Linked DNA regions of Homo sapiens: region 1 is linked to region 2. Evidence: promoter capture Hi-C in human tissues and cell types (Jung and others, 2019). All regions are on one chromosome and are shown on one strand. Each heading gives the region's core, a stretch centred on a gene start or on the middle of the fragment in contact. The rest is flanking DNA. Distances are from core to core; before and after follow the strand shown.

Evidence for each region. Contacts are between HindIII fragments. The study calls those that stand out against the background at their distance.
Region 1: a contact is called between a fragment that was not itself captured here and the fragment with the promoter of RNF113B in region 2, in 2 of the 25 tissues and cell types used here (IMR-90 fibroblasts and dorsolateral prefrontal cortex).

What each region holds. Positions count from the first base shown.
Region 1 is chr13:98,389,722-98,393,124 of GRCh38, reverse strand. It overlaps FARP1 (FERM, ARH/RhoGEF and pleckstrin domain protein 1), which reads right to left. Exons shown (of 27, transcript NM_005766.4): 10 at 3,005-3,168; 11 at 2,245-2,313. Among named protein-coding and RNA genes, the nearest start is that of FARP1-AS1, 44 kb to the left of the region's middle. The HindIII fragment of the contact is 3,357 bases long and covers 430-3,403 here.
Region 2 is chr13:98,174,789-98,178,589 of GRCh38, reverse strand. RNF113B (ring finger protein 113B) reads left to right here and starts at 1,321. Exons shown (of 2, transcript NM_178861.5): 1 at 1,321-2,308; 2 at 2,414-2,805. The coding sequence starts at 1,354. The coding sequence ends at 2,427. The region is part of intron 1 of FARP1 (FERM, ARH/RhoGEF and pleckstrin domain protein 1); the gene reads right to left. The HindIII fragment of the contact is 2,632 bases long and covers 517-3,148 here.

The DNA.
Region 1 (3,403 bases), core at 859-3,358, 210 kb before region 2:
GCATCTTGACACGTCTCTTTCATCTCTTCCCTCTCAGTCTGCCTATTCCCCTTTTCCCCATCAAACAGGCACTGAAATGCTCAGGTCCTGAAATTCATGAGACTGTGTAAATATAGATTCTATTCCCAGGCACATCCAGCTCTTCTTCAAAATACTCCAGGTTAGCACAGAAAAGCTCTAGAGATCCACATTCTGAATCAGAGAGAGAACTGGGCTATTTCTTACATGGTTTTCAAATACTAACCATTGACTGTCCAGGAAAATTATGGGATTCATCTCCAAAAAAAAAACCTCCTGAAAAAAACCTCCTGAACATGACATTTATAGAGACAGGGCATGAGAAAGCACCACAGATTTGTGGTAGAAGGAAGATGCAGGGATGGCCACAGAAGCAGGTTTATTTCAGCAAAATCAAAACAAAATACTGAAATAATCTGGATGGTTCTCAATAGGCAATCAGAGAAATACAGTGTAGTATCTTCATACTACTGTATGGCCCTTAAAACAGATCTCAAAAAAAAGGTAGTATTAAAAAAGCAAGATGCAGAATTATATATGGGAGTACTTATATGAATGAAAAGAACACACTCAGAGCAGTTTTTCTTTTTTCTCTTTTTTTTTTTTGGGACAGGATCTCGCTCTGTGGCCCAGAGATGGAGGGCAGTGGCACAATCTTGGCTCACTGCAGCCTTGACCTCCCAGGCTCAAGCAATCGTCCTACCTCAGCCTCCCAAGTAGCTGGGACCACAGGCATGCACCACCACATCCAGCTAATTTTTTTTTTTTTTTTTTTTTTTTTTTGGGTAGAGATGAGCTTTCGTCATGTTACCCAGGCTGGTCTCAAACTCCTGAGCTCAAGTGATCCACCCACTTCGGCATCCCAAAGTGCTGGGATTACAGGCATGTGCCATTGTGCCCGGCCTCCAGAGCAATTCTACACACTCTTTTGGGATGCAGTAATATGCATACAGAAAGGAGCCTAAATGTGGCAGCTGCCTCTGGGGAGGGGAGAAGGGAAATTACCAGAGCTGGTGGTTCAAGGGGGTTTTACCATGTCTGTAACGAGAGCTGCAAATAAAAGAAGAAAAAACAACCCCAGAAACAAATGTGTCCAACTGTTAATGGCCGTTAATTCTAAGTAGTAGGAATCTGGGTGTTTGCTGACTTCCCTGTACTTTATTGTAATTTTTAAATGTATGAAAATGAAAAAAGTTTTTTAAAAACGCTACATGCAGTAACTAGTTCTTGAGGCCTATCCTCCGCTCCTTTACCCTCCTTGGGTTCTGCTGCTCCTCCTTGGAGCATTGGGCTTGGGAGCTGGCTGGCTGGCCAGAAACTGCTTAGCAGCTATGAGACCTGGACTAGTTATTTAACCTACTGGGGACTCAGTATCTCCATCTTTATAAAGGGAATAAAAGAGCACTGACCTCACAGAGCTGAGGTGAAGACTCAATGAGTTCACTCAGGCCCAGTGCTCGGAACAGCCTGGCACACACTAAGGGCTACAAGTGTTTGATAACACCAACAACAATAATAATAATAAATCCTGTTTCTGGCTGGGCATGGTGACTCTTGCCTGTAATCCCAGCACTTTGGGAGGCCAAGGCGGGAAGATGGCTTGAGCCCAGGAGTTTGAGACCAGCCCTGGCAACATAGGCAGACCCCATCTCTACAAAAATTTAGCTGGGAGTGGTGGTGGGCACCTGTGGTCCCAGCTACTCAGGAGGCTGAGGTGGGAGGATTGATCGAGTCCCAGAGGCTGAGGCTGCAGTGGGCTGTGATCACACCACTGCACTCCAGCCTGGGCAACAGAGCAAGACCCTGTTTTGAGAAAGAAAAAATCCTGTTTCTGCTCATCCAGATTTACTTGATTTAATTAAAATGTTCATAGACATGCTTTCAATACAAATCCCAAAATATTGAAGGACTCACCAGTGAGCTAGTTTTTATCATGCTTCATCCCCCACTGTGATGTCCTAAGCCCTTCTCTCCTTCCCCAGTATGTCCTCTCCCGCCTCCCCTAGTCCTTTCTGTCTGTTCTCATCTCACTCTCGAGGGTGTGCCCCTGGGCTCTAAAACCTTCCTCTCTAACACTGGACTTGCTGAGGATGACTGAGACTATCATTTACAACTCAAGGGACATCAAGTCTGAAGTCTGGGTAAAGAAATATTTAGCAGCAACAAACTGTTACCTGGCGAGTCTGAGCCTTCTCAGACTGGAAGTAGCATTGAAGCTTCTCTTACCTTTCAAACTGCACCTTCTTATGTCCTCCTTCTTTAACATAGTCGAGAACCTGCTTCTGAGTCCGACCACTGAAACAGAGACCACAACAGGGAAGGGGAGAAATACCAAGGCATTCTCATTTAAACACACAAATGATGCTTCAGGGCTTCACTTCCCCTCCTTCCCTAACTGGGAGAGATGCAGGGTTGCTTGGCTAGCCAGGACTAAAAGCAATCCTGACAGACTCTGTATTTTTGGGTCCACTCAGTCTCTTGATATTTTCCTTGAATATACAGAAAAAATGTTCAATTAACTAAGCCCACTTGATAACTGTGTTTGGTTACTAAGCAACCATCCCAAGAGCCTGTGCCTTTAGTGAAGGCAGGGATCACTGGGCTCAGTGCCTGGAACAGTATTTGACACATGGCAGACAATGATTTGTTAAAAATGAATGGAAAAGTTCACCAATAACATCCAAGTCCACATATTCTATGAAGCAACACCAAATGTTAGTAAGACACTGTACTTCTACTGAGAGAGAAATCCTTTCTGAGTTAGAGACTCCCGCTAGGCGTTTACCATGACTGGGTGGCTTTGCCTGGTGCCTCTGCTGTTCAAACAGAGCCCACTGGGATTAAGATACAAGCGCCCCCGCTTGGCCATAGCTCCTGGAGGCCAATGAGCGTTCACCTCCCTGACCTGCTGTGTGTCACAGCGGCTGTGAGAGGCGGGAGGAAAAACGTGCACCCAGCAAACAGAGGCACAAAGTGGCGACCTCACCTGAACCGAAATGATGACCCCCGGCTAAAGAGGACGGGCTTGGGCTTTGGTTTGGGCTCTTCAAAAAGTCTAAAGAAGGCATGATGTTCAACACAGATTTTCCAGAAGGACTTGCAGAAATCCCGACTGGCCATCAGGAATTCCAAGGTATCCTGGTACGCACTCTAAAAAGGGAAAATACAACGGTGGTTTTTTCCATTACCCATAGATACACCACTGAAATAGGAGAAAAGGGGCAGAAGATAGCTTTGTCCGATAAAGTTTTCGCTGTGTATTTTATTATAGCATGACCATCAGTGCAAAGACTTACTAAACTCTAGTTATTCTTAAGGACAAGATGTGGTCCCTAGTCCATCATTTTCTTCCCCACAGAATCTCTTAGACGGGTAACAGAAACAG
Region 2 (3,801 bases), core at 72-2,571:
TAAATAAGAACTAGAATCCATTTACATTATATAAATGAATTATTTCACAACTTGAAGATAAACTCAAGAAAAAAAAGGGTTAAAAATATTTGAAGGCGGGGTGCAGTGGCTCACGCCTGTAATACCAACATTTTAGGAGGCCAAGGTGGGTGGATCACCTGAGGTCAGGAGTTCCACACCAGCCTGGCCAACATGGTGAAACCCTGTCGCTACTAAAAACACAGAAGTTAGCTGGGTGTGGTGGCACACACCTGTAATCCCAGCTACTCAGGAGGCTGAGGCAGGAGAATTGCTTGAACCCGGGAGGCAGAGGTTGCAGTGAGCCGGGATCATGTAACTGCACTCCAGCCTGGGCGACAGAGCGAGACTCTTTCTCAAAAAAAAAAAAAAAAAAAAAAAATTAAAAATGATTATCTTAGGTACCAGGAATTGGCGTGTGGAGGGGCCAGGCAGGGGACAGCCAATTTCCATTACAATAAGTGCTTGATAATATTTTTTTAAATGTTTACATGTGTTACTTTTATTTCAAAATGAAAGCCAGCTACACACCCACAGGTGCAGTGTGATATGACAGTCTTTTAATAAAGGCTATATTAAAAGAATAGACACAAAAGTGTTGACAGTGGTTATCTTTGAGGGGAGGGATTATAGGCGTCTTACTTTTTGCTTGTATCTGTTTTTGTTTTCTGCACTGCGCGTGTGTTGCTTTTAAATACGCATTTCAAGCGCCTGTGTTTTAGGATGAGCACCACCGGTTCGCTATGGCCTGGAATGATTCCACCCGTGGCCTTTTAGGAATCTGTTGAAAAATGAGTGTGCACTGAGGGAGCTGAGGAGCAAGTGAAGATGACTCTCTCAAGGAATCCATCTGAGGGCCAGGAGGCAGGTCAAGGGAGGGAAGGGCGGGAGAAGCCTTTTTTTTTGGTTTTTTTTTTTTTAATTTGAGACAGGGTCTCGCTCTGTCACCCAGGCTAGAGTACAGTGGCGTGATCTCGGCTCACTACAACCTCTGCCTCCTGGGTTCAAGCGATTCTTCTGCCTCAGCCTCCCTAGTAGCTGGGACTTCAGGCGCACGCCACCACACCCAGGTAATTTTTGTATTTTTAGTAAGGATGGAGTTTCGCTATGTTGGCCAGGCTGGTCTTAAACTGCTGACCTCGGGTGATTCTCCCACCTCGGCCTCCCAGTGTCCCGGGATTACAAGAGTGAGTCACCGCGCCTGGCCTAGCAGAAGCTTTTCTTTCACTTGCTTTTGCTTTTTAGAACTGGGAGGGCCCACGCCCCACGTGCAGCGACGCAAGGGCGACGCAAGGGTGACGCACGCCACGGCCGTTGGGAGCCTGAGACTCAAACATGGCAGCGCCACCTTCTCCAGGAAGGACGGCCGACCAAGCAGACCAGGTATGCACCTTCCTCTTCAAAAAGCCTGGACGGAAAGGGGCTGCAGGCCTCAGAAAGCGCCCGGCCTGCGACCCCGAGCACGGAGAGAGCAGCAGCAGCGGGGACGAGGGCGACACAGTGGCTCAGCCCCCGCGGGTGGCACCGAGGCCCCGGGGCCTCCACAGCTGGCAGAAGGCGGCTCACGGCGACAGGAGGGGCGAGGAGGCGGCGCCTGAGAGCCTCGACGTGGTGTACAGGTCCACCCGCTCGGCGAAGCCTGTGGGGCCAGAGGACATGGGGGCCACCGCTGACTTCGAGCAGGACACCGAGAAGGAGCACCATACGCCGACCATCCTCAAGTGCAGCCAGCGGGTCCAGGAGGCACTGCGGGGTCGGGAGCACGACCACATCTACCGGGGAATCCACAGCTACCTGAGGTACCTGAAGCCCAAGGACACGTCCATGGGCAACTCCTCCTCGGGGATGGCGAGGAAGGGCCCCATACGTGCGCCAGGGCATCTGCGCGCCACTGTGCGCTGGGATTACCAGCCTGACATCTGCAAGGACTACAAGGAGACTGGCTTCTGTGGCTTCGGGGACAGCTGCAAATTCCTCCACGACCGTTCCGATTACAAGCTCGGGTGGGAGATTGAACGGGAGCTTGAAGAGGGTCGCTACTGTATCTGCGAGGACGAAAACCATGAAGTGGGAAGCGAGGAAGAGGAAATACCATTCAGGTGTTTCATATGTCGCCAGGCCTTCCAAAACCCAGTCGTCACCAAGTGCAGGCATTATTTCTGCGAGAGCTGCGCGCTGGAGCACTTCCGGGCCACCCCGCGCTGCTACATCTGTGACCAGCCAACCGGCGGCATCTTTAACCCCGCCAAAGAACTGATGGCGAAACTGCAAAAGCTTCAGGCTGCAGAAGGTGGGGGCAAGTCCCATTTCACAGAAGACCCCCATGAGTGTCCAATTCCCATGGCTTAGGTTTCCCATAATTCTCACATTTAAATAAATTTTTTTGTTCTTTTAGGAAAAAAGAGATAAGAAAGACTCAAGTCTGTATGTACACTGGGGAGAAGCAGCCTGTTGAGTAAGATGAGAGAGATGACAGTCTTCCTGCAATCCCATGCCTGAGTATGTAACCAAAAGAATTGAAATCCGGATCTCAAAGAGGTATGTGCACTCCCATGTTCACTGCAGAATTATTTGCAAAAGCCAAGAGGTGTAAACAACCCAAGTGTCCATGGATGGATGAATGGACAAACAAAATGCGATACACACACACAATGGAATGCTATTAAGCCTTAACGGGAAGGAAATCCTTTTAAAGATTTAAACTGATCCTTTTAAGGATCACATGCTACAACTAGAATGAACCTTGAAGACGACACTGCTAAGTGAAATAAACTAGTCACAAAATGACCAATACGCTGTATGATTTTTCACTAATATAAGGTATCTAGAGTTGTCAAAATTACATAAAAAGTCGAATGGTGGTTGTCAGGGGTTAGGAAGAGCGGGAGTGGGGAGCTGTTGTTTAATGGGTACAGAGCTTGAGTTTTGCTAAATGAAAAAGTTATAAAGCTCTGTTACACATCAATATATATATACCTAATATGAGTGAACACTTAAAAATGGTTAAGGGTACATTTTATGTTTTGTACTATAATTAATTTTTTTTTTCAAAAAAGCTAAAAAGAGATATCAGAAAAGGAAGAAATGATGGAACCAAGACCGGGAGGGAGTGGAGAGGATGGGGTTCAAGAGTTACCAAAACAGCAAATAAAGGATATCAGTTAAGAACCAAGGAGGGGAGGAGTTGACAGAAGAATATCCACGCTGAAGTTTGGATTTGATTTTGTTTGGCTGATGTTAACATCCTCTCCCTTAAAATGGCAATGTATTCCTCTCCCAAGACAAACACCAACAGATCCACGCTGAGTTCCTCACAGCTGATGAGTTCCTTACAAGGAACTGACACAGATTATGTAAATTTTCATAAGAGCCTATCTCATATATCAACTTTGGCTGTGAATTCCTTGAAGACTGAAACCATGTCTCACATACTTCCTGTTTTTTAATGGCCAACAGGTAGCTCAATAAAAAGTCAGTTAGTGAAAAGTCAGTCAAACCAAGCTACCTAGCAGTCGGCTATGCAAGCAACTGCGGCAGAGCGAACTTCGGCAAAACTTTCCACGTGATTTTGACCTTGAACCACACCCATCGACCCACCCACCACCATGGCCAGGTTGCAGACAAAAGCAGAGCCGTGGTTGAGGGCACAGACCCAGGAGCGAGATAGGATTCAAGTCATGGTTCTACCAGTTACAGCTGCGTGACCTTGGGTATGTTACTTTACCTCTCTGTGCCTCAGTTTCCTCATACATAGTAGTATCTCACAGGGTTGTTTTGAAGCAA